Regions from separate parts of the Homo sapiens genome. Here regions 2, 3, 4, 5, 6 and 7 are each linked to region 1. Evidence: promoter capture Hi-C in human tissues and cell types (Jung and others, 2019). All regions are on one chromosome and are shown on one strand. The core of a region is centred on a gene start or on the middle of the fragment in contact, and the rest is flanking DNA. Distances in the headings are between cores, read along the strand shown.

Region 1 (3,601 bases), core at 517-3,016:
CCTATTTAGAAACATGCTCTCGAAGTTCTCTACAAACTCAAAGGGTACATTTAACTCCATTATGCACTCTCACTGGCAGATGGAGGGATGACGCTGAGCCTGCTCTCAGGGAGTTAAAGAGATGCTCCGTAGTAAAGGGGAACATCTTGTGGACTGTCAGATGGCCAGCCATTCTTCATCTTCATTATCCCAGCAAAGAAAAGGTCCTTACCCATCAGGATAACACCATTAAACTAACTGTAAGAAAAGAATGAAGGGATGATGGAAGAAGTCTCCCTGAACTTCTCCTGACAAAGGAGCTAGTCCACAACTGAATGAACTGGTCGTAAAGCTTTTAAACGAAAATCTTGATCTCCAAGTATGTTTAAAAGTGTAAAAAGACAAAGACACACACAAACACCAAACCTAATGCACATTTTAAACTTTTGTACAATCAGTTCACGTTTGTAGTTCATGATTGGAACTCTTTCAACTTCTAACCTTGATTTCCAGGTACGTAACTCCACAAAATTGTTTATCTTATTTCCCCTAAAATGAGAAAGTGACTGCAAACTGCAAAGAACATGCCCCTGTTCTCCCAACCTAAAAACCCAGAGTTTCAGACATTTTGGTCTCACACCAAAGAACTGGGAGATGTGAAATGAACTGCGCTCCATATTGATTCTTAAAGCAAATAAGAAGAAAAAGGAAAAAAAAGCTAAGAATGGTAGGTAAGATAAAAGAATTGTTAAACTTCACCTCTAACCTGAAATCTTGGACCTCGCACACACAAAATCAAGATTTTTTTACACCCTATTCCTCAACAGAAAATATTCTGCAAAGGAGAGAAAATTTCGAAGAGTGGAAAGTAGAGGAAACACAGTAAGTACAGTAAAGAGAAAGGATTCGAAATTCATTTGCCAAGAACAAAAAAAATGAAACTTAAATTGCATAGGAGCTCTTACACACAAATGCATTGGCATTTCCCAAATTAAATTGCATGAGAGCAACAATACAGGCCATTTCTATATAGCACCCACTTACGAGCTCTAATTCCAGAACACACACCGATATGACATAGTGTTGCAATCAATGTATTAGGAGGCAAAGAAAATGGTTGGGCTACTGGACGTCTTCGACCAGCTCATTCAAATACCTTTAAAATTAATTAAGGGGCAGGGAACTAGAGAGAGAGGAAGAAAAAAAAAATGGAAGAATAAAGGCGCACCGAGTAGAAAAGATTAAAGGGAACGTGGAAGGCCGGGGCTGCCGAAACTAACCTGTGCCATCGCTGGCGGACGCCGAGAGGGCCGGAGATGAGAGTTTAGGCCGCTTGGCTGAAGGCGGCCCCGGTTCCACCACATTCTCGGCCATTTTTAATTCTTTCGGAGATACAAGCGAGGAAAACCAGAATCCTCAGGAAATCTCTTCTTCGGCCCGGGGTCCCCGCGCCGCACCCAGGGGTGGGCTGGGGGGCTCCGACGGCACCCGAGGGGGTGGGGGAAGTTCCTTTTTCTCTTCGCCGGGTCGCAGTGGCTGGAGAGGGATGCGGACTCGATAGAAAAGGTAAGGGCAAGTGCGAGGGGCCGGGCCTGGGCCCAAGCCCGGAGGAGGGCACAAGAGCACAAATTCGCCGAGCGCGTCCGCTGCGGCGAATTCCCGAGAACTCGCGGCTCTAGAGGCGCAGTCCCCGGCCCGCCACGGCCGGCCCCTGCCCAGCCGAGGTCTCTCGGAGCTCCGCCGCCGCCATCAACCTCTTCCTCCTCGGCGCTGTCCTCCTCCTTCTCATCGCCACAAGGAGGCGGGGGCGAAAAGGGGGGAGAGGAGGAGGCGACAAGAGACACTCACCTCCTCCCGGTGCCCCCTCCCGGGCCTGCGCCCCCACCCTCCGAACCCTCCTCCTGCCGCCGCGCTCCGCGCCGCCGCCGCCGCACCGGCCCCTAATGGCCGCAGAGAACTCGCCCGAGCCGAGAGCCAGGCTGGCGCCGCCGCCTCACATCGCGCGGCGGCCGGCGGAGGCGCGGCAAGGACGCCGGGAGCGGAGCTGGCCGGACCAGAGGGCCGAGGGGGCCGGGCCGAGCAGCGCCGCCCGCACGCCCGCGCCGACGCGGAGCCCACCGAGGAGGCCCCGCTCCGGCGGCGGCGCAGGCGGCCCCTCCTCGCGCCGCGCTCCCCTCCTTCGCCTTCCTTTCCCGCGGAAAATAAATAAATACGGCCGCTGCTACGGCCCCCACCGCCGGCGGCCAGGTGCTGGGAGCGCCCGCCCCCCGGGGCTCCGTTCGGGGCCGCCCGCGGCGGCGGGAGAAGACGCCGCGGGGCGCGGGGTTATGTAATGGTCCCCCCTAGGCGTCGACGCCGGCCCGGCTGCTGGACCGCGGTGGGGGTGTGTGCGGACGGGAGGGGGCTGGGGGTCGCCTCAGCCCGTGCGCCCCGGGCCCCCTGCCACTGTCTCGGCCCCTGCCGCCTCTCTCCGACCCGACTCCCCTCCGCACTCTCTGGCTCCCGCAGTTAGCACTCAGCCCGGCGTCCTGCTTGCCCACTCTCGCCCGCTCTCTCTCGCCCTCTCTCCCCCCCAGCCTAGCACACAAACAAGATGGCGGCTGTTGTTTCTTCCCTCTGCCGAATCCTCCTTACAGGCTAGCGGTAGCGGCGGCGGCCGGAAATGAGCCAAGGGGGGGTGGAAAAGGGGAGTGGCCGGGCCTCCGGAGGGGGGCGGGGCCTAGGCCCGAGCCGCTCACACAATGGGGGAAGTGGAGCCGGGGGCGGGGCCTGTCCCAATCACGGGATCCGCCCTAGGCCCCAACGCGGTTAGCGCTTCCGCAAACTCCCCCGGCGTCACCCTGTGGCTCCCTTTAAAGGGGAGGATTTTAAGAGTGGGGAGGATTTTAAGGGGGGAGGGGCGGGGGCGGACTCAGAATCTATTTTCAGTCGGTGGATAGTTACGAGGGAAGGTTCCTGCCTTTGGTCTCTGCGTAAGGGACCAGTGGGAACCGGGACGACGGAACCCCGGAGCTGCTCCGAGGAAGGCGCCAAGTCGCCACTCAGGTGGCCAAATGGGAGCGCCCGTAGGGCGGCCCTGCTCTTCGGCCCTTGGGTGGCGGGTCCCCCAAAACCCCGGTCGAATTCACCAGGCAGGGTGTACCCACTGCCGGCTGTTCCGGGCCAGATACCCAGTGCGTCCTCACTTCTCCATTGCCCTCCCAAAGGGAGCAGTTCACATCCAAAAAGCACGTTGATTACGAGTTGTTTTCATTTTCTCTGAATTTTCCTTTTCCTTTTTATGTATTATTTATTTATTTATTTTACAACGAGCATTATTACTCTGACCAGAAAACAAAATCACAGCAGTGGAAAGATGTTTCGGCACCAGACCCAAATTCATTTCTTGCCCTCCACGTGTGTCCATACGCCCTTACCAGGTAGCACTCTCACCGCAGAAGCCTTCAAGTATTTTCCTAAACATGGCTGGGACCTGAAGACATTTCTAGGGTTTGTCTTTTTTTTTTTTCTCGTCCGCTCCCAATAGAACAAGTTAGTAAAAGACCACGTCTAGCCATTGCCTTATCTAATGTAATTATGGGAAAAACAAAAATGTGGTAAAGGTAATGTAAGGATGGAAAAA
Region 2 (3,601 bases), core at 514-3,013, 460 kb after region 1:
TAGATTTGTTACGTCGAAAGGAAAGGAAATAGAAATGGATTCAGCTTTCTCCAAGTTGAAGTCTGAAATCTCTGATTTTGTACAACAGAAAAACGATTCTGTTGACTTAAAAACTGCCCAGGTGTTTTTTTGTTTGTTTCTTTTGTTTTGTTTTTAAAGAGACAGAGTCTCACTCTGTCATCCAGCTACCACACCCAGGCCTGTACCTTTTATTTTTTTATTTTTATTTTTTGAGAGACAGAGTCTCGTTCTCTTGCCTAGGGTAGAGCACAGTGGTGTGATCATGGCTCACTGCAACTGCCGCCTCCCAGGTTCAAGCGATTCTCCTGCCTCAGCTTCCCAAGTAGCTGGGATTACAGGTATGTGCCACCATGCCCAGCTAATTTTTGTATTTTTTAGTAGAGGCAGGGTTTCACTATATGTTGGCCAGGCTGGTCTCAAACTCCTGACCTCAGGTGATCCGCCTGCCTTGGCCTCCCAAAGCGCTAGGATGATAAGCATGAGCCACCGTGCTTGGCCAGTCCTGTACCTTTTAAATGCCCTCCAGATTAACCTTGTCCCTCAAACTCAGCCACACAGGTTCTCATTCTAGGTATTAGTGTGGGCCCTAGTTCCACCTCTAAGCTCTTGTGAAGCATATGGTGGGATCATAGCTCACTGCAACCTCAAAACTCCTTGTCTTAAGTGATCCTTCTGCCTCTGCCTCCTGAGTAGCTAGGACAACAGCATGTACCACCATGCTTGGCTAATTTTTTTTTTTTTTTTTTTTTTTTTGAGATGGAATCTTGCTCTGTCACCCAGGCTGGAGTGCAGTGGCGGGATCTCGGCTCACTGCAAGCTCCGCATCCTGGGTTCAAGCAATTCTCCTGCCTTAGCCTCCCGAGTAGCTGGGATTATAGGCACCCACCACCACGCCCAGCTAATTTTTTGTATATGTATATATTTTTTTTAGTAGGGACGGAGTTTCACTATGTTGGCCAGGCTGATCTCGAACTCCTGACCTCAGGCGATCCATCCGCCTCGGCCTCCCAAAGTATTGGGATTACAGCGTGAGCCACTGTGCCTGGCCTGCTTGGGTAATTTTTTTTTTTTTAATTATGTTTTGAGACGGAGTCTTGCTCTGTTGACCAGGCTGGAGTGCAGTGGTTCGATCTTGGCTCACTGCAACCTCCGTCTCCCGGGTTCAAGCCATTCTCCTGCCTCAGCCTCCCAGGTAGCTGGGACTACAGGCATGTGCCACCATGCCCGGCTAATTTTTTTGTATTTTTGGTAGAGACGGGGTTTCACCATATTGGACAGGCTGGTCTCAAACTCCTGACTTCAAGTGATCCGCCCGCCTCGGCCTCCCAAAGTGCTGGGATTACACATGTGAGCCACCGCGCCCAGCCTCTGCTTGGCTAATTTAAAAAATTTTTTTTGTAGAGAAGAGAAGAGAGTCTTGCTATATTGCCTAGACTAGTCTCAAATTCCTGGCCACAGCAATCCTCCTGCCTTGGCCTCCCGAAGTGTTGGGATTACAGGTGTGAGCCACCGTGCCTGGCCAAAATTCTTAAAAATACTGAATCCATATCACATGTATGAGGAGAGAAGATAATTACACTCTGTGTCACTGCAGGTGTTAAAGCAGAAATTGGGTGACCTGTCAGGGTGCATTGGGTGGAACTAATTGCTCAAGTTGCCTTCAGTTCTGTGGTTCATGACTCAAGTCCAGTTCTCTCATTGTTTAGTGGGAGGAGGCACTGTGAAATTAAATGATTTGAGTTCCACAACAGTCCAGGGGCTGAGCCCAGGCCAGTTCCTCACACAGTATTTAAGGCCGGCTCATATAGCAGTAATAGAAGATCTGTAGAATCCTTGGAAGAAAGAGCGTTGTGAAAATGTCTTTTTTTTTTTTTACTTCCACATTTTTACTTCTGTGGTATGTTTGGTTCATTTGCTCCCCACTCATTCTTATTGATATGCATTTAGAAATCATTCTCTGTGTAAATGAGAGCTTGTAATGAGTAATTTGGCTAGTTCATTTTGAGATCTGGAGTGTGTCCTCTGTTACTGAATTTCTAGATAGGTAGGCTATTTACAGGTCTTTGTCCTCTAAAATTATGAGTGGAAATTATGGGTGATTCTGGTTTTTGAAAATAATTGTTCTTGTATTAAAATTTAAAGCATAATGGGCATAATTCAAACAAAGTTCTGAACTTCATAATATGACAGAGTAAAATATCCAGTGAGGTAACATGTCCATGTCAAGTTTTAGGGCACAGCAGATCTGGGTACTGACAGTTACCAGGTATGTGACTGTAGGCTTACTCCTTAACCTTCCTGTGATTCAGCTTCTTCATCTGTAAACTAGAGTTAATAATCCTTACAACATGAGGTCGTTATAAGGATTATGAAGAAATGTAAAGAGGGAAGTAATAGGGGCATCTACTTTATAGTAGACATTGTGCTACCTTATTAATCCTCATATGAACTCTGAAATAAGTGGTAGTAGCAGCATTTTGCAGATGAGCAAAGAGAAGCTTCTAGAGGAACTTCTAGATAACAGGATTTTTGTTGTTGTTTTGCTTTTTTGTTTTTTTTAGACAGAGTCTTGCTTTGTCTTCCAGACATGAGTGTAGTGGCAGGGTCATAGCTCACTGTGTCCTCAAACTCCTGTAACCTCAAACTGCTGAAGCAGTTCTCCTGCATAACTAGGACTATAGGCGTGTGCCATCATGCCCGGCTAAATTTTTTTGTGCAGGCGGGGTGTCACAGTGTTCCCCAGGCTGATCTTGAACTCTTGCCCTCACGCTTTGACCTCCTAAACTGTTGAGATGACAGGCATGAGCCGCTGTGCCTGGCCAGGATTTGAATCCAGATCTGTTTTTGAATTAAATAATTCTGGCTTCCTACCATGATGTATATGAAGTTCCTAACTTTGCCTCTAGTAAATGTCTTTTCGTGTTCAGTGTCTTTTGCATAGTTAGCGAAAATGTCAGTTATAGTGAGAACTCTTTGTAGTAGTAATCAAGATGTTATAGCTCAGAAAATATTCTGTGCGGTATTCATTATATGTATCTGGTTGCCATTCCTGAGGTGGAAAACTATAATAGTAACCTCACATCTTAAGTTGCTCAATTAATACTTGCCAAATAAGGGCCAGGCATTATGGCTTACACCTGTAATCCCAGCACTTTGGGAGGACAAGGTGGGAGGATCACTTGAGCCCAGGAGTTCAAGACCAGCCTGGGCAACATGACAAGACCGTGTGTCTACAAGAAGTAAAAAAAGTAGCTCAGCATGGTGACATGCACTTGTAGTGCATGAGCCCGGGAGATCGAGGCTGCAGTGAGCTGTGTTTGTGCCACTGCACTCCAGCCTGGGCAACAGAGTGAGACTGTCTCAGAAACAAAAAAATTACCAAATAAAGGCATACTGTAATATCCACATTTTTAGAATTTTTTTTTTTGTCAGTGTTTCAGTATCTTTTAAATTGTAAATGGGGTAAGTGATCCAGGGTCTCTTGATTGTGGTTAATTTGTACATATTTTCTCTACCACAAAATTTACAGGAACTTGGAAAGTTGTCCTTTCCTAATATTTTAGAATGCACTGTGTTGAAT
Region 3 (3,601 bases), core at 664-3,163, 450 kb before region 1:
CTGAGGCAGGAGAATCGCTTGAACCCAGGAGGTGGAGGTTGCATTGAGCTGAGATCATGCCACTGCACTCCAGTCTGGGCGACAGAGCAAGATTCCGTCTCAAAAGAAAAAAAAAAGAAAAGGCCTGAACCGAAGCAATAGCAGTGGGAGTGGAATGAAGAGGAAACATTTGAGAGGAAGAATTAATGGTAATCCCTAAACACCTTTACTCAATGCTTCCTAGGAATGTGTTAGGGGATTGTGGGAATAAAGAGCTGAAGTAGCATTTGCTGCTGTCCTCAAGTACCTCAAATCCTATAGAAGCACACCTAAAAATAAAATCATAGATGCAGGGAAGGCCACATTTAGCATCACTGCAGCCAGTGTCACTGAGAGATCACTATGCTTGTGAAATCAGCAAATTAAGGCACCATACATTTCCAAGTGCCTCTGTCATTTACCCCAAGTATCTTTTGTAAGTACCTAAATTGTTATTTTGGTTAAAACACACTACAAGCCCGGGCGCGGTGGCTCACACCTGTAATCCCAGCACTTTGGAAGGCTGAGGTGGGCAGATCATGAGGTCAGGAGATCGAGACCATCCTGGCTAACACGGTGAAACCTCGTCTCTACTAAAAAAAAATACGAAAAATTAGCCAGGCGTGATGGTGGGCGCCTGTAGTCTCAGCTACTCGGGAGGCTAAGGCAGGAGAATGGCGTGAACCCGAGAGGCGGAGCTTGCAGTGAGCCAAGATCGCGCCACTGCACTCCAGCCTGGGCGACAGAGCGATCCTCCGTCTCAAACAAACAAACAAACAAAAAAACCCACTACAGTATACATCTACACCCCACCAATTTTTAGAGGCAGGGTAGTGAGGTTCAGACTGGGCCCACCTCTACCACTTGTCAACACGTGATCTTGGGTAAGCTACCAAATTCTCTTAGCCCATGCTATCACGTGAAGATGAATGAGACTGGAATGTCAGCGAGACAGAGCATGATGGGGCTATAGGAGGGGGGTATGGTCAGATCTTGCAGGGCCGTGTGAACTACCATAAAGGTTTTGGACTTTTCTTCTTTCTTTCTTCTTTTCTTTCTTCTTTCCCTTTTCTTTCTTCTTTCTTCTTCTTCTTCTCCTTCTTCTTTCTTCTTCTTCCGCCTCTCCTTCTTCTTCTTTTTCGTTTAGACATGAGGTGTCACTGTCACCCATGCTAGAGTGCAGCATGCAACCTCAAACTGCAACCTCAAACTCCTGGACTCAAGCGATGCTGCTGTCTCAGGCTTCTGAGTAGGTGGGACTACGGGTGTACACCACCACGCCCGGCTTGGATCTAGTATTCTAAGTTCAATGGGTTGTGTTTTTTGTTCCAATTTATTATAACTTTTCAATTGGAACATAATGTCTACAAATAAATGCAAAAATCTTGCCGAGTTCAATTAGTTTGGACAATTATATACGTCAATGTTATACCACCGAAAACAAAATACAGAACATTTCCATCATCTCAGAACAGTCCCAAGTGCCCCTTTCCTGCTAATTCTCCTTGTCTCCGGAACACTTAAGGGTGCTAAGCATGTTATGTTTGCGGTGGGTTTTTTTTTTAACTTAGATGTGGTAATATATGTTTGCGTTTCCAAAGGATCACTCTGGCTGCCGAGCAGAGGACAGCAATGCGGGTAAAGCACAGGCCAGGCGAGGGATAATCAGGCGGGATTGCACGGAGGTCGCCTAGCAACAGAAAGCGCTGTCGGGGGCGGGGGAACCGCTCTGCTCCTGTGAAAGGAGGAGGCCCCGCCCTCTCCTCGCCCTCTCTCTGCCCCACGCTGTGCGCGAGCACACAGGCAGCCCCGCCCCGCCTCGGCGGGGTGGGGGTGGACAGAGGTTTCTTATTGGTGAGTTTTCCGGAAGCGATGGATTCGGAATCTCGCCCGCAGTCGCGCAAGCGCGAGCGGCTGTGCGCGGTGCGTGGTGCGTGGTGCGTGATACGAGCGGCGGCACGTGGCGCGGGTGCGGGGCGTGGAGTGGCGTGGCGTGGAGTGGCGTGGCGTGGCGGGGTCTCGCGGCGCGGGCGCGCACCCGGAGCTGTGGACGGAGAGTGCCTCCCTCTGGCCTCAGTTTCCTCATGTTGTAGTAGCGGAGCATGGCCCGGACCGGGCCCCCGAGACCGCCCCGTGCAACCTCACCGCCAGCCTGGGGGCCTCAGCGACTGGGACGGGACCAAGGGGCTCGGGGATTCTCCCTGCCCCCGGCCCTGGTGCGTGACTGACCCTCCTGTTCCCAGAGCCCCCAGCGCAGGCCGGGATGTTCGTCCTGGTGGAAATGGTGGACACCGTCCGGATCCCCCCTTGGCAGTTTGAGAGGAAGCTCAACGACTCCATTGCCGAGGAGCTGAACAAGAAGTTGGCCAACAAGGTACTGGGCCCACGGCTCGCGGGCAGGCCTTGGCGTGGGAGAGCGAGCGCCGCCCACTGGCCGCAGGCCCGGCCTCGGTCATGCCAAGCCCTGGCCGTGGGCAAGCAGCTTAATGTCTCAGAACTTTTCTTCACCGTGAAAGGAGATATTGAAGGGGATCAAAAGAAAATGGGCTTGAAAAAGGGAGTTGTAACTGGAAGTGTTAGATTCCACAATTCTAAATTACTTTGCAATTGCAGGCAAGTTACTGACCCCTTCTGGGCCTCAGTTTCCATTTTTAAAATGGGGATAAAATATTGCTGTCCTTCCAGCCATGCATTGTTTTTGTTGTTGTTGTTGTTTGTTTTGTTTTGTTTTGTTTTTTGTTTTTGAGACGGAGTCTTGCTCTTTCGTCCAGGCTGGAGTGCAGTGGCGCGATCTCGGCTCACTGCAACCTCCGCCTCCCGGGTTCAAGCGATTCTCCTGCCCCAGCCTCCCGAGTAGCTGGGACAACTACAGGCGCGCGCCACCACCCCCAGCTAATTTTTGTATTTTTCGTAGAGACGGGGTTTCACCATTTTGGCCAGGATGGTCTCGATCTCTTGATCCCCCCGCCTCGGCCTCCCAAAGTGCTGGGATTACAGGTGTGCGCCATCGCCTCGGGTCAATGCATTGTTTTCGTGAAGATGGAGAGTTCTAGTAGTACAGAATTAACTGTCAGGAGGTTCATCCCTTCATTCCAGCAGCCAATATTTGTGCGCCTTCTCTGTGCTGTGCCTGTGTGCCTTAGTACCAGCTGAGAGGTCTTCCCACTGCCGTTTCTTTGACAGTCCTCCCTTTCCAGGTATTCTGTGTCACATCACTCTCTTTCCTTCTTAGACTTTTTCCTTTCCCTCTCCTTGAGAGCAGGGACCTTATCTGCCTTCTTCCCTGAAGTATCCCCTCATTTAGCCAAAGCCTGGCGGGAGTAGATGTCCCATAATTTTCTGTTTTGTGTTTGTGTGTGTGAGACAAGAGTGCCGCTCTTGTCGCCCAGGCTGGGGTGCAATGAAGCGATCTTGGCTCACTGCAACCTCCACCTCCCAGGTTCAAGCTATTCTTCTGCTTCAGCCTCCTGAGTAGCTGGGATTACAGGCACCTGCCACCACACCTGGCTAATTTTTGTACTTTTAGTAGAGACGGGGTTTCACCATGTTGGCCAGGCTGGTCTCAAACTTCTGACCTCAGGTG
Region 4 (3,601 bases), core at 717-3,216, 380 kb after region 1:
CGTCTCTGAGGCAAACAGATGCCTCTGGCAGAAGGGGAAGGAGGTCACACAAAAGGGAGTGCAAAAGAGGAAAGCACGATAATATCATGCACTAGCTCATTCTCCCCAGGCCCTGTGCTTATGACTTGGCAGTGTTTAAGGTTCCTACCAGCCCTGACATCCTGTGAATCTGTGAATCCTATCCTTTCAAGCCTATCAACATAAGAACCCTTTTTTCATTAGCAGTGTGCTTTTTGTTTGTTTGCTTGCTTGTTTTTGTTTGTTTGTTTTGGTCTGGTTGGTTTTTTTGTTTTTTGGGTTTTTTTTTTTTTTTTGAGACGGAGTCTCACTCTGTCACCCAGGCTGGAGTGCAGGGGCGTGATCATGGCTCACTGCAGCCTTGACCTCCCAGGCTCAGGCGATCCTCCCACCTAAACCTCCCGAGTAGCTGGGACCACAGGCACCTGCCACCAGGCCCGGCTAATTTTTGTATTTTTAGTAGACACAGGGTTTCACCATGTTGGCCAGGCTGGTCTCAAACTCCTGGGCTCAAGCAATCCATTGGCCTCGGCTTCCCAGAGTGCTGGGATTACAAGCATGAGCCACCGTGCCCTGCTGTCTTTCAATTTTTATTAAAGGAGAAGGAGATTTGAGACACAGAGACATAGAAAGCGAGCCAGGTGAAGACTGAGGCAGAGACTGGAGTGGTGCCTGTGTGGGCCTCAGAGCCTCCAGAAGGGACCAACTTACCTGAGAACTTGATTTTGGATTTCTGGCCTCCAGAACTATGAGATAATACATTATTTCACAGTTTCTAACCTGCCAAGTTTGTGGTATTTTGTTATGGCAGCCTAGGAAACTAATACAGGGCACATTGGATTTAGAAATAAAGAGGTCATTGGTTGACTTTGGTGGGTTCTAAACCAGTAGGAGCAACTTTTCCAGGAAGCTTGACTATCAAGAGGAGGAGCGCTATGGCAGTAACTAAAGGAATGTTGCTTTAAGAAAAGATGTATATTGGTTCCAGCAGAGCTATTAAACAAACAAACAAACAAAAAACCCAAACAAACAAACAAAAACCCCCACCAAACTACAAATAAATAAATATTAAAAAAAAAAAAAAAGCTGAGGCGGGAGAATCTCTGGAATCCTGGAGGCGGCAGTTACAGTGAGCCAAGATTGTGCCACTGTACTCCAGCCTGGGCGACAGAGCAAGACTCCATCTCAAAAAAAAAAAAAAAAAAAAAAATCCAAGGACATCAGCTATAGGATTTAGGATGGACCTATATGACCTCAACGCAAGACCTTTAACTTAATTATATCTACAAAGACTCAATTTCCAAATAAGGTCACGGTCACAGGTGTCAGGGTCAAGACTTGGACGTATCTTTTGGGAGGACACTATTCATCCACCACAGATCCTTGCCAGGCCTCATCCTGACCTTTTTGCAGCATTTGACCCGCTGGGTCACTTGCTCGTGGAAACCATGTTTTCCATCAGCTTCCAGGATGCCACCGCTCCCCTGGCTTCCCTCCTGCCTCTCTGGATGATCCAACACAAGCTCCTCTGCTGATTCCTCTTCCCCAGCCAGCCCTGAACAGTGAAGGTTTCTAAGATTCTATCCTTAGCTTTCTTCCTCTTCTTTCTTTTCTCCTCCTCCTCACCCTTCTTCCTCCTCTTCCTCTTCCTCTTCTTCCTATTCTTCTTCTTCTTCTTTCATCTTCTTTCATCTTCTTTCTTCTTCTTCTCTTGGTTGGGCCATTGCATTCATTCCCATGGGCTTCAAGAAAGACACAAGGGAGTTATCCTGGATATGAGAGTCCATATTATTGGCCGGGCGTGGTGGCTCACGCCTGTAATCCCAGCACTTTGGGAGGCCGAGGCAGGCAGATAACAAGGTCAGGAGCTCGAGACCATCCTGACTAACACGGTGAAACCCCGTCTCTACTAAAAATACAAAAAATTAGCCGGGCGTGGTGATGGGTGCCTGTAGTCCCAGCTACTTAGGAGGCTGAGGCAGGAGAATGGTGTGAACCCGGGATGCAGAGCTTGCAGTGAGCCAAGATCGCGCCACTGCACTCCAGCCTGGGTGACAGAGCAAGACTCTGTCTCAAAAAATGAGAAAAGTCCATGTTATTGCAGATTTTAGGGCTAGAATGGGTCTTTGACAATGTAACCTGATGGCAATGGGTAAAGTGAAACTGCCTATGCAAAGATAATTCCAATGAGAGAAATCTAACATGGGTGACTCCATCTAGCCTCCAGCCTCACAGGTTGGCTCTCTTTGCTCATTTCTGGGCATAGGCCAAGCTAACCATGAGAGGAATTCAGTTTATAGTTTAACTTTGAAGCAAGGATGATAACAGTCCCTTTTAATTTGAGAGCTGAAACCACCTTTGTAAGACTAGTGAAAAGCCAAAAGATTAGGATTATGAGGGGAAGCTGAATTCTGTCAAAATGCAGGTGTAGTTTCTGTAATCCCTTACTGCTCAGGAGTCATGAGGCCAGAGGCCATAAGATTTGTGACTTCCCCAGTTGCTCCTATAGATAACATCACTCTTGTAGAACCTAAGATTGGCCTTTTGAGATGTTTTTCAGACTCGTGACCCATGACCATGACTGTGGCCCTACCAAGAGGTGGACTCAGTGCACAAGGACCATTTTCCACGCCCCTACAATTGCATCCCTAACCAGTCAGCAGCACCCATTCCCTAGTCCCTGCCAGCCAAACTATCCTTGAAAAATCTGAACCACTGATCCTTCAGGGAGACTGATTTGAGTGATAACCCCAGTTCTCCTGTATAACCAGCCTTGTGTTAATTAAACTCTTGCTTTACTGCAATACCACAGTTCAAAAAAATTAATTTGGTCTGTGCAGCAGACGGGAAGCACCCATTGGGCAATTACAAAAGGTCAGAAAAGTGACAAAAGGAATACAATATTTTAAGTCCAGGCACAGTTGCTCAGGCCTGTAATCCCAGCACTTTGGGAGGCTGAGGCAGGATCACCTGATGTTAGGAGTTTGAGACCAGCCTGGCCAACATGGTGAAATCTGTCTCTACTAAAAATACAAAAATTAGCTGGGCATGGTGGCATGCTCCTGTAATCCCAGCTACTTGGGAGGCTGAGGCAGGGGAGTCACTTAAACATGGGAGGTGGAGGTTACAGTGAGCCAAGATCATGACACCGCACTCCAGCCTGCGTGATACAGTGAGATTCCATCTCAAAAAAAAAAAAAAAAAAAAAAAGAGGAATACAATATTTTAAGAAGATTTCTCCAGTCTTGGTGTTTGAGATGGACTGGATTGGTGAAAGAGACTAGAAAACCAGAGACCCTTTGGGGATTTACTGTAGTAATCCAGGTATGTAATGAGGAGGGCTTAGACTAGGATGCTACCAAGAAAGAGAGGGAAGAGGAGAATGAAGGTTTTTTGGGGGGCACCTATTCTGTGCTACTTTATATACACGTCAGTTCTCACAACAACCCTACAAGGAATGTATTCAGATTTCCATTTTTACAGACTTTTTAAAAAGTTCAGAGAGGTTAAGTGACTTGTTGAAAGTCACACAGCAAGTCTATGGCCATCCTGGGGCATAAACCTAGGTATTTCTGAGACCAGA
Region 5 (3,601 bases), core at 622-3,121, 350 kb before region 1:
GGCCCAGTCTTAGCGGCTGGATCCTAAACCCAATCAGACACCGCTTCTCCCTTTCCCCCGACCAATGGGAAGGCTGTTGCTAACACACCGGCTATATTTTTAGCTTTCAGTGCTCTGGGAGCGTGTGGGTCGGCTGAGCCTCTCTGCCTGGTGGGAAGAGCTAGGGGAAAAGAGAGAAGGGAAGGGGAGGGGGAAAGGGAGGGTGCAGCGGGCATGTGCGGGAGGGGGCGTGTGTGTGACGCTGTCACTCGCTGACGCACAAGGCAAGTAGTCCCTGGAGGTGCCCCCGGGGTTGCGACGCTCAGAGTGTGGGGGATGGGGGGGCGCTCAGGCTATCTCCCGCCTCCCTGTCCCGGTGGAGTTTGCCCTCCAGCCCGGCATTTCTCTGTTGCATTCAGGGAAAGTGCATTTAAACCCCCCACGCTACTGGTGCTCTCCGCCCTTGCCAAAAAAAGCGATCAAGGAAAAAAAAAAAGCAAACTGTTCGTAGCTGGAAACTTTCGGATCTCGCCACCCAACGTGGGGATGGCGGCTGCTGCTGGGCCGGAACCGTCTGGAATGACAAAAAAGGTGTGGGCGGGAGGGGAGAACTGGGAAATGGGAGATCTAAGGAGGGACCGGGGAGAAGACCTCACTCACAGTCCCCCGGGGGCTCCAGACTGCATCTTCCGGCACTCCTGTCTGCCTGTGACCGCAGAACACGGCCCTCCCTCCCCCTGGCTCTGTGTCCCGCACACTCACAGAGGCAGAGCAGCCCGCGTGGCCAGAGCCGGGGGAGGGGGCCTCAGCGCGCGGGCCTGGCGCGCCCAGTCCCGGGTTCGCGGAGCCTCGCTCCGCCGCCCGAGGGGCCGTAGTGGGTGCGAGCCTTGCGCCCGTTGCACGGTCAGGGGCCACCCCACGCCGGCGGGACTGCGACTAGAAGAAATGTGGGGCTCTCCCGCGTGCCCCACACTGGGGTCGCTGGCCAGAAAGAGCAAACAAGAGTTGGGAGAGGGGCTGCGCCCGCGCGCCTGCGCAGAGCCAGAGCCGGCCCTCCAGGCTGCAAGGAAAGGAGCGCCAGAGGCGGTGAGGGGAAGGTCCTTTGTGGCACTCGGCTAGTTTCACGGCCGTCAGCCTCGTCCTCGGCTCCTCTTACTCCCGCACAGCGTGGCCCAGGCCCCAGAGTCTCCCTCGCCTTTCTTTCGACGTTGAGCCCCCCGAGGAATCACAAGGCGCTCGGAAGACTCATGCCTGCCCGAAACGGGTCCGAAATGTTTCCAGAGCCCGCGTCGTCCCCTCAGTTCCCCCTCCCGCAGAGGCCGTAACGGGGCGATGCTATCGCCGCGGACACGGCCAGACGCTCGGAGCTGGAGGGAAGGCCCCGGGAAACGGCTCGGGCAAACGTCCGAACCATGGGCTCCGAGGCAGGTGCAGGGCGGACGACTCAGCGGGGGGTTTCCGGCGGGCATGGTGACTCCCTCCCCTCCCCCGCGATACTCGTCCCCCAAACACAACTAAAGGGAGAGTGCACTGTGCCCGGCTCGTGAGCAACCCGGCCCCAGGTGGTCCCCGGCCCTCACGGAGCGCCCCTGGGAGAACACCTCACACGACGCGCACAAGTTCAGAGTGGTATGGGAATGAAGGAAAGGAGTGCGGCGCGGCGCTGTGACAGGGAGGGGAAGACGGGGAGCCGGACGCACGACCGGCGAGCACAGAAGGGCACAGGAGCTGCTCCGCGAGATACCAGCGAGCTGAGGCGCGGGGCTGGCTGGGAAGTAGTCCCGGCCGGGCCCTGGCCCCGCCCCTGCAGGGCGGAGGGACGCATCACGCAGGGGTGGGGAAGCCGGATCCGTGCGCAGGGTTGCTAAGGGTGAAACTTTTCATTGACTTTGCTCACTTCGGGCCGGGGCGCGGGAAGGTGCGGGTTGTTGGCTGAGGCAAGCCGTGGCTCGGGCGACGCGGGGCCAGGAGGGCAGGACCGTCTGCCGGCGACAGCCCATACCGTCTGCCGTTGCGCGACACGAACCACCCTCCGATCCGCCATCCCCGCGTCGTCGCCGCTAGTCCGCCCGCCCGCCCTCGGGCCCCCCGCTGCCGAGCCCGACCTCCTAAGAGCTGAAAGAAATTATTGAGAGTCATAGTCCATAGCCCCCTGCTTCGTCCCCCAACCCTCAACGACGAAAAGGACTTCGGTCCCCTGGCCCGGCGACGCCCGGGAAGGAAAGGAGAGCGACCTCCGCCCCGCGCTCAGGCCACCCTGGAGGGAGAAGCCGCCCCGCGGCCGGTAGAGCGCCCCGCCGCCGCGGAGACCCGAGTGAGTGAGTTGGGGGGCGTGCGGGCGGGGGGCCCGCCCCGAGACCCAGCCGGCCGGACTACCTCTTCCACCCCGCCCCACTCCCGCTTTGCTGGACTCTCCACGTTGCTGCCGCTCCCTCCCCGCCTGGCCAGCATTTTCTTTCCCCATCCAGCTTCCCTCCAGACCCCACTTTCCCCAGCTCCTCTTCTCACGCCATCTGTGCTCCTGGGGTGCCCAAGAGCTCCTTTTTCTCCCAGTTCCAAGAGTGGCCCTCTCCTGGGTGGGGTGCATTTCCTCCCTTCCCCGCCTCCCCCGGTTCTTTATATCCTAGCTACTCGCTAGATCTTCCTTGTTCTCCAAAGAAACATAACTCCCCCCACCGTTAAATAAATCCGAGGAAGGAAGGGGATCCAGGCCTTGTTTTTCTGCTTCTTTTCCCGTGTGCAGGGAAGGGGGGTGGTAATTGTTAATAGACTCTATTTCTGGCTCTGTGGAGCCTGAAGGGTGGAGGGTGGACACCCCCTTTGGCGACGGGACAGGTCAGTGGAGATTGTCCTTGGGCCACTGAGCCAGAGTTCACCGTTTCGGCTGAGCTCTTTATACTCTTAAGTGTTTTAATGGAAAATTGGGCAGAAAAAAGTACCCTTAGAGCAGTGCCAGTGAGTGGATTCTGCTTATCTTGGTAAGGTGCCTGCGAGGTGGGGCCCTACCCCCAAACTCCTTCCCCTCCTGTCCGGAGGATGAACTGTGCCCTTGACCACCAGAAATCTGGGAGGGGAAGGAGGGTGCAGAGAGGAGGCACAGCCGGCAGGCCCTCTCCCTCCCCCAGGAGAAACCAGAACCCCGCACAGCAAGCTTCAGCTTGGGGACGGGTGGAGGCCAGTCTCTGGTGCTACTCCGTATCTAAACGGTCTTTTTCTCCTTCTTACCCACCGTACCCTGGGAATGGGTCCTTCATCTCTGATTTTCCGGCAGAAAAACAATCCTATTGCTTTCTTGGGCTTCTACCCCCATCCCTCCGTGAAGCATAGGGGGAAAGAAGCTTGTGTGGGAGGAAGGATTAAGGAGGTTTAACACCCAGCGGGGGAGCTTGCCGAGGATCTGGTAAGTCTGGTCGTAAAGCAGACCTTGCAATGGGAGGAGACACACAGAATTTTAGTATGAGAAGATGCTCAGGTGTCAGGTGTACAGTTTTTTTCTTCTCTGCCTGGGAACCTTTTCCTATTTCCCTCTCCCGGATCTGGTTACTCAGTCTTCGATTAGAAATGGGGTGAGGCTTGGGCCCTGCTGGCCTTGGCCTGGCGCCTCCCCACAGCTTGACTGGAA
Region 6 (3,601 bases), core at 371-2,870, 310 kb before region 1:
AGCTCACTGCAACATCCACCTCTCAGGCCCAAGCAATTCTCGTGCCGCAGCATCCTGAGTAGCTGGGACTACAGGTACCCACCACCACACCTGGCTAAGTTTTTGTGTTTTAGCAGAGAAGAGATTTCACTATGTTGTCCAGCATGATCTTGAACTCCTGAGCTCAGGCAATTCACATGCCTCAGCCTCCCAAAGTGCTAGGATTATAAGCGTGAGCCACTGTGCCCGGCTAGAATTTCCATTTCTTGATAGTTCAGTTCAGTGCAACACAGAGAATAAAAGCACAGACTCTGGACCCAGATAGATCTCAGTTTGAGTCTGCCTGTAACATTTCTTAGCTATGTGATCTTGGGCTACTCACTTCACCTCTCTGTGCCCTAGTTTTCTTTTCTTTTTTTTTTTTTTTTTTTTTTGAGACAGGGTCTCGCTCTGTCGCCCAGGCTGGAGTGCAGTGGCACCATCTCGTCACTGCAAGCTCCGCCTCCTGGGTTCACGCCATTCTCCTGCCTCAGCCTCCCGAGTAGCTGGGACTACAGACACCTGCCACCACGCCCGGCTAATTTTTTTGTATTTTTAGTAGACATGGGGTTTTACTGTGTTAGACAGGATGGTCTCGATCTCCTGACCTCGTGATCAACGCGCCTCGGCCTCCCAAAGTGCTGGGATTACAGGTGTGAGCCACCGCACCTGGCCGCTGTGCCCTAGTTTTCTCACCTGTGAAATGCGATTTATAATAAGATGTAACTCACAAAGGGTTGTGGGAAAGACAGTTTGAGAAAATGCTTGAAAAGCACTTAGCAGACTGGGCGTGGTGGCTCACGCCTGTAATCCCAGCGCTTTGGGAGGCTGAGGCAGGTGGATCACAAGGTCAGGAGTTCGAGACCAGCCTGGCGAACGTGGTGAAACCCCACCTCTACTAAAAATACAAAAATAGTCTGCTACCACCACCACCACTACCGCTCCTCTTATCTCCCCAGGGGACATAGTGACCCTTGAGTCAAAAGAGCAAGAGCCAGGTTTGTTACTCAAGGGCAGGAGCCAAGAAAGAAAGTGCCTAGGCCCCCTTACTAAGCCCACACTCCAGCCGTGTCAACAGAAAGTTCACCAGAGCTGGGTTCAAATCCTACTTACTGGGTGGTCTCAACCAAGTCACTTAATTGTTCTGAACCTGTTTTCCTATCTATAAAATGGATGTAAAGATACCGTAAAGGGCTGTTGTGAGGTTGAAATGAATGGGCATAGAAAGCATCTGCTGTCCTGGCACGGTATAGTTCATGCCTGTAATTCCAGCACTTTGGGAGGCTGAGGTGGGAGGATCACTTGAGCCCAGGAGTTTGAGACCAGCCTGGGCAACACAGGGAGACCCTCATCTCAATTAAAAAAAAAAATCTGGCCGGGTGTGGTGGCTCACGCCTATAATCCCAGCACTTTGGGAGGCGGAGGAAGGTGGATAGCTTTAGATCAGGAGTTCAAGACCAGCCCGACCAACATGATGAAACCCCGTCTCTATTAAAAATACAAAACTTGGTCAGGGGTGATGTCGGGCACCTGTAATCCCAGCTATCCAGGAGGCTGAGGGAGGAGAATCACTTGAACTCGGGAGGCGGAGATTGCAGTGAGCTGAGAGCTGAGATTGTGCCACTGCACTCCAGCCTGGACAACAGAGCAAGACTCTGTCTCAAAAAAACAAAAACTGACACAGTAAGTGCTCAATAATTACATGACCAGGCACGGTGGCTCACACCTGTTATCCCAGCACTTTGGGAGGCTGAGGCGGGCAGATCACTTGAGGTCAGGAGTTCGAGACCAGCCTGGCCGACATGGTGAAACCCCATCTCCACTAAAAATACAAAAAGTAGCTGTGTGTGGTGGCATGCGCCTGTAATCCCAGGTACTTGAGAGGCTAAGGCAGGAGAATCACTTGAACCCAGGAGGCAGAGGTTGCAGTGAGCCAAGATCACACCACTGCACTCCAGCCTGGGTGACAGAGTGAAACAGTCTCAAAAAATAAATTAATTAATTAAATAATCACATATCTTGAGCAGGAAAAGAGCCAGGCTGACTCTGTATGGGGAAGAGGGGAGGTGTTGGGCCCCTCCAGCTTAATCCCTGGACTCCCTTATGCTAAGGAAGTCCACAGCCTCCTTGACTACTCTGGCAGGAGTGAGAATAATGCTGTATGCCTCAGGGAAGCAGGGATCTAAATTCAAATGTATGTAAATATCATGCAAATCAGGAAGCACTGGGTCCTTCCAGGGGAGAGATGGAGAGAGAAGATCCAGTTACTAGGGACTGGGGATGGGGGTAGGGGGCTGGAACAGAAGCAGGGTACCCCAGAGCCTTCACAGGGCACTGCCCCAGCTGCCAATTGAGCAGCTGCCCCAGGCCCTGTGGGCCCCTCCTGGCATGGATATGAAACCTCCTGGGCCGGGTGCAATGGCTCACGCCTGTACTCCCAGCACTTTGTGAGGCCGAGGCGGGCGGATCACGAGGTCAGGAGATCGACACCATCCTGGCTAACATGGTGAAATCCCGTCTCTACCAAAAATACAAAAAAAAAAAAAAAAAAATTAGCCAGGTGTGGTGGTGGGTGCCTGTAGTCCCAGCTACTCGGGAGGCTGAGGCAGGAGAATGGCATGAACCCGGAAGGCAGAGCTTGCAGTGAGCCGAGATAGCACCACTGCACTCCAGCCTGGGCGACAGAGCAAGACTCCATCTCAAAAAAAAAAAAGAAAGAAAGAAACCTCCTGGTGCCCTGGGATCCGCGGACTCCTCGGTCAAGGTGAGAGAGTCCCTGGTGAGGACACACACAGACCCATTTGTGTACACATATGCTAACCCTGCCAGACGCAGTTGGACGCACACACATATACCCAGGAACAGTCACAGACACACATAGACACAATTGTACACACACTGAGACACAGGCACTCGGGCAACTCAGGCTCTGGGCCTCAGGGCAGGGGAGGCCCCAGAGATCTTGCCCCACTTGAAAAGGCAGTGCTGAGGCCCCAGGGGCCCCTGGTTTCCTGTCCACCCACCTTTTCCCCAACCCACACACACGGTACCTGCACACACCACCCCCACTCGAGGAGGCCCCTGAAAAAGCTCCCTCCTTGGCCTCATCCTGATATGGCAGGCCTGCTCCGTGCACCCCATGGGGTTCCAGTTCTTGCCCACATTTATTCTTTTTTTTTTTTTTTTGAGACGGCGTCTCGCTCTGTCGCCCAGTCTGGAGTGTAGTGGTGCAATCTCGGCTCACTGCAAGCTCTGCCTCCCAGGTTCACGCCATTCTCCTGCCTCAGCCTCCCGAGTAGCTGGGACTACAGGTGCCCGCCACCACGCCCAGCTAATTTTTTGTATTTTTTAGTAGAGATGGGGTTTCACCGTGTTAGCCAGGATGGTCTCGATCTCCTGACCTCATGATCCGCCCGCCTCAGCCTCCCAAAGTGCTGGGATTACAGGTATGAGCCACTGCACCCGGCCCATTTATTCTTTATTTATTTTAAAAAAAAATTTAACATTTATTTATTTATTTAGACAGTCTCGCTCTCGCCCAGGCTGGAGTGCAGTGGCACAATCTCGGATCACTGCAAGCTCT
Region 7 (3,601 bases), core at 814-3,313, 320 kb after region 1:
GGATGAGGACAGATTCAAGATCTGTTTTGGAGAAAAATTTCAAAAGGCTTGTTGCTAGATAAAATAGGGGTGGTAGTGAGAATATTCCAGTTCAGAAAAATTAGTACCTTCTGTTAAAAGCATTTTTACTAATATATTATTTTAAAATTGGTACTTAACATAAGGGAATTCAGTAGCATCCTTATAAATGTATTTTAACACTTTTATAATGTAAACACATAATCTGAAGAGCTTAGACTGCAGATGTTCTAAATGATTCATTTCTCAGAATTTCTTAAAGAAGTGGAAGTTATTACCATCAATATCTAAATCATCATCCTGGGCATATTTTTTTCTTTTGAGGTAGAATTTTCCCTATACCTCTCTATAAAATGAAAATTATTATGCTTGCTTCATTGAAAAATTTTTCTTAGGCCGGACATGGTGGCTCATGCCTGTAATCCCAGAACTTCGGGAGGCCGAGGTGGGTGGATCATTTGAGGTCAGGAATTCGAGACCAGCCTGGCCAACATGGTGAAACCACATCTCTGCTAAAAATACAAAAATTAGCCGGGCGTGGTGGTACATGTCTATAATCCCAACTACTCGGGAGGCTGAGGCAGGAGAATCACTTGAACCTGGGAGGTGGAGGTTGCAGTGAGCCAAAATTGTGCCATTGCACTCCAGCCTGGGTGACAGAGTGAGAAGATGTCTCAAAAAAAAAAAAAAAGGAAAAATTTTTCTTATTTTCACTTATTTGATTGAAATATTTCACTCAGTTGAAAAATACAGGATTAATGAAATCTATGGTACTAATTGGATAAATTTATTAATGTATGCTATAAGATACTACTCCAACATAATATCCTCCCCAGGTAAAAATGAAGATTTTAAAAAACAGCAACAGTACTTTTGTTTTTTTTCCCTCTTTCCTCAGTTTGGGCGTCATAGACTAAACCCAGAAAACAGAACATTGGGAAGTCTTCGGAATATTCTCTATCTTCTTCACCAACGAGTAAGGTGAGCTTTGTAGATGCCTCACATTCCGTGCTCTCCTTCAGCAGCCATCTCTGCCAGGGAGGGGTTGCATTTCCCTCTCTCACACTACTGCCTTGGTGGTGGCAACCTCCAAAACCTTTCCCTTGCTTGCTGTGCTTAGACATTTCCCATTTTAGGAGCCTAGTACAGTATGACAGCATTTTGGGAAATTATGGAAAAGTTCAGGTTCTTATTCTTTGTTAGTTACAAATATTCAGAACTCCTTCAGAAAGAGAACCCTTCTATACTTCAGTCACCCTGAGTGTGCTTTCATCAGTGGCATATCCTATGATGCCTCTTAGCAATATAACATCTGCCTATAGAATAGGAGTACTGGAGAAGGGAGGGGGCAGTGGAAAAAGTGATAATAGTGATGATGATGATGATAATGATGATGGTGGTGTTGGTAAGAGTAGCTAACATTTTCAGTGGTTTGCCATGTGGCAGACACTGACCTAGAGGCTACACATAGGTAATCTCAATCCTTTTTTTTTTTTTTTTTTTTTTTGGAGACAGAGTCTCGCTCTGTTGCCCGGGCTGGAGTGCAGTGGCGCTATCTCCGCTCACGGCAAGCTCCGCCTCCTGGGTTCACACCATTCTCCTGCCTCAGCCTCCCAAGTAGCTGGGACTACAGGCGCCTGCCACCACGCCTGGCTCATTTTTTGTATTTTTTAGTAGAGATGGGGTTTCACTGTGTTTGCCAGGATGGTCTTGATCTCCTGACCTCGTGATCTGCCCTTCTCAGCCTCCCAAAGTGCTGGGATTACAGGTGTGAGCCACCGCGCCCAGCCTTGTCAATCCTAACAGTAGCTCTGTGAGTTAAGAACTATTGTCATTTCCTGTTTCATTTAAAGAAACTGACACTTAGTGAAGTCAGATAAGTCAGGGACCTCCTTTGAAGCAAAAGCTCTTATAACTTTATTACTGTTCCTAGATACAAGATACTTTGAAAATAAATTTATTATTAAAATAAAATATGCAGCCAGGCAAAGTGGCTCATGCCTGTAATCCCAACACTTTGGAAGGCTGAGACAGGAGGATAGCTTGAGGCCAGGAGTTCAAGACCAGCCTGGGCAAAGTAGTGAGACCCTGTCTCTACAAAAAATATTTACAAAATTAGCCAAGCATGTGGCACAAACCTGTAATCACAGCTACACACGAGGCTGAAGCAGGAGATTCACTTGAGCCCGGCAGATTGAGGCTGTACTGAGCTATGATGGCACCACTGTACTCCAGCCTGGGCTAAAGAGGCAAGACCTTGTATAAAAAAAATAAAAAAAAAAAAAGAACATTCAAGGGACTAAAAGACAAAATTAGGCTGGGCGTGGTGGCTCACACCTATAATCCCAGCACTTTAGGAGGCCAAGGCAGGCAGATCGCTTTAGCTCAGGAGTTTGATACTGGCCTGGGCAACATAGTGAGACCCCGTCTCTACACAAATAAAAAATTAGCTAGGCATCCTGGTGCCTGCCTGTAGTCCCAGCTACCCAGGAGGCTGAGGTGGAAGGATTGCTTGAACCCAGGAGGTCGAGGCTGCAGTGAGCTGTGATTGTGCCACTGCACTCTAGCCTGAGCAACAGAGTGAGACCTTCTATCAAAAAATAAAATAAAATAAAAGACAAAGAATATGTATAAAGTAAAAAATAAATACTCACTATATCAAGTATTGGGAGGGATGTTGGAGCAACCAGAACTTACTTTCTTATGCTGCTGGTGGGAATATAGAATGGTACAGCTGCTTTGGAAGGCAATTTGGCATTTTCTTTAAAAATTTTTATATACCACACCTATTATAGGACCCAGCCATCCACTTCAGGGTATTTACCCAAGAGAAATGAAGGCATATGTCTACACAAAAGCTTGTATACAAATGTTAATAATGGCTTTGTTTTTTTTTTTTTAATTTTTTAATTTTTGATTTTTGTGGGTACATAGTAGGTATATATTTTTGAGGTATGTGAGATGTTTTGATACAGGCATGCAAAGCATAATAATCACATCATGGAAAATGGGGTATCTATCCTCTCAAACATTTATTCTTTTTGTTACAAACAGTCCTATTATACTCTTTTAGTTATTTTTAAATGTACAATTAAATTATTATTGACTATAGTCACCTGTTGTGCTAGCAAATACTAGGTCTTATTCAAACTATCTATTTTTGTACCTATTAACCATCCCCACCTTCCCCCCGCCACTACTCTTCCCAGTAGTCTCTGGTAACCATCCTTCTACCTTTATCTCCATGAGTTCAATTGTTTTGATTTTTAGGTCCCTCAAATAAGTGAGAACATGCGATATTTGTCTTTCTGTGCCTGGTTTGTTTCACTTAGCAGAATGACCTCCAGTTCCATCCATGTTGTTACAAACAACAAACTCTCATTCTTTTTGATGGCTGAATAGTACTGCATTTTGTATAAGTACCACATTTTCTTTATCCATTTATCTGTTGATGGACATGTAGCTTGCTTCCAAATTTAAGACATTATTTGTAAGAACCAAAAACTAGGGCCTGGCACGGTGGCTCACACCTGTAATCCCAGCACTTTGGGAGGCTGAGGCGGGCAGATCACGAGGTCAGGGG

Evidence for each region. The method cuts DNA at HindIII sites, captures the fragments that hold promoters and counts their contacts. A contact is called where the count stands out against the background at its distance.
Region 2: a fragment that was not itself captured here is called in contact with the fragment with the promoter of EP300 in region 1 in 1 of the 25 tissues and cell types used here (stomach).
Region 3: a contact is called between the fragment with the promoter of POLR3H here and the fragment with the promoter of EP300 in region 1, in 3 of the 25 tissues and cell types used here (adrenal gland, dorsolateral prefrontal cortex and hippocampus).
Region 4: a fragment that was not itself captured here is called in contact with the fragment with the promoter of EP300 in region 1 in 1 of the 25 tissues and cell types used here (IMR-90 fibroblasts).
Region 5: the fragment with the promoter of TOB2 here is called in contact with the fragment with the promoter of EP300 in region 1 in 2 of the 25 tissues and cell types used here (dorsolateral prefrontal cortex and hippocampus).
Region 6: a contact is called between a fragment that was not itself captured here and the fragment with the promoter of EP300 in region 1, in 2 of the 25 tissues and cell types used here (dorsolateral prefrontal cortex and hippocampus).
Region 7: a fragment that was not itself captured here is called in contact with the fragment with the promoter of EP300 in region 1 in 2 of the 25 tissues and cell types used here (IMR-90 fibroblasts and aorta).

What each region holds. Positions count from the first base shown.
Region 1 is chr22:41,090,757-41,094,357 of GRCh38, reverse strand. It overlaps EP300 (EP300 lysine acetyltransferase), which reads right to left and starts at 1,766. Exons shown (of 31, transcript NM_001429.4): 1 at 1,260-1,766. The coding sequence starts at 1,353. It overlaps MIR1281 (microRNA 1281), which reads right to left and starts at 1,845; the gene lies at 1,792-1,845. RefSeq lists an enhancer at 1,076-1,315 and silencers at 1,426-1,525, 1,706-2,475, 2,576-2,865. The HindIII fragment of the contact is 16,440 bases long and covers 1-3,601 here.
Region 2 is chr22:40,626,949-40,630,549 of GRCh38, reverse strand. All of the region lies in intron 1 of MRTFA (myocardin related transcription factor A), which reads left to right. Among named protein-coding and RNA genes, the nearest start is that of MRTFA, 8.0 kb to the left of the region's middle. The HindIII fragment of the contact is 9,289 bases long and covers 1-3,601 here.
Region 3 is chr22:41,542,782-41,546,382 of GRCh38, reverse strand. POLR3H (RNA polymerase III subunit H) reads left to right here and starts at 1,913. Exons shown (of 6, transcript NM_001018050.4): 1 at 1,913-2,392. The coding sequence starts at 2,282. RefSeq lists silencers at 1,723-1,822, 2,013-2,142 and enhancers at 2,193-2,282, 2,293-2,392, 1,715-2,552. The HindIII fragment of the contact is 26,348 bases long and covers 1-3,601 here.
Region 4 is chr22:40,706,403-40,710,003 of GRCh38, reverse strand. No RefSeq gene overlaps it. Among named protein-coding and RNA genes, the nearest start is that of MCHR1, 29 kb to the right of the region's middle. The HindIII fragment of the contact is 5,121 bases long and covers 1-3,601 here.
Region 5 is chr22:41,445,071-41,448,671 of GRCh38, reverse strand. It overlaps TOB2 (transducer of ERBB2, 2), which reads left to right and starts at 1,871. Exons shown (of 2, transcript NM_016272.4): 1 at 1,871-2,293. LOC105373043 (a long non-coding RNA gene) reads right to left here and starts at 1,727. Exons shown (of 2, transcript XR_938274.2): 1 at 640-1,727; 2 at 1-553. RefSeq lists a silencer at 740-839 and enhancers at 710-1,405, 1,410-1,659, 1,406-2,101. The HindIII fragment of the contact is 14,496 bases long and covers 1-3,601 here.
Region 6 is chr22:41,405,201-41,408,801 of GRCh38, reverse strand. No RefSeq gene overlaps it. Among named protein-coding and RNA genes, the nearest start is that of TEF, 25 kb to the right of the region's middle. RefSeq lists a silencer at 401-450. The HindIII fragment of the contact is 5,819 bases long and covers 1-3,601 here.
Region 7 is chr22:40,771,335-40,774,935 of GRCh38, reverse strand. It overlaps SLC25A17 (solute carrier family 25 member 17), which reads left to right. Exons shown (of 9, transcript NM_006358.4): 8 at 917-999. Among named protein-coding and RNA genes, the nearest start is that of MIR4766, 41 kb to the left of the region's middle. The HindIII fragment of the contact is 5,383 bases long and covers 1-3,601 here.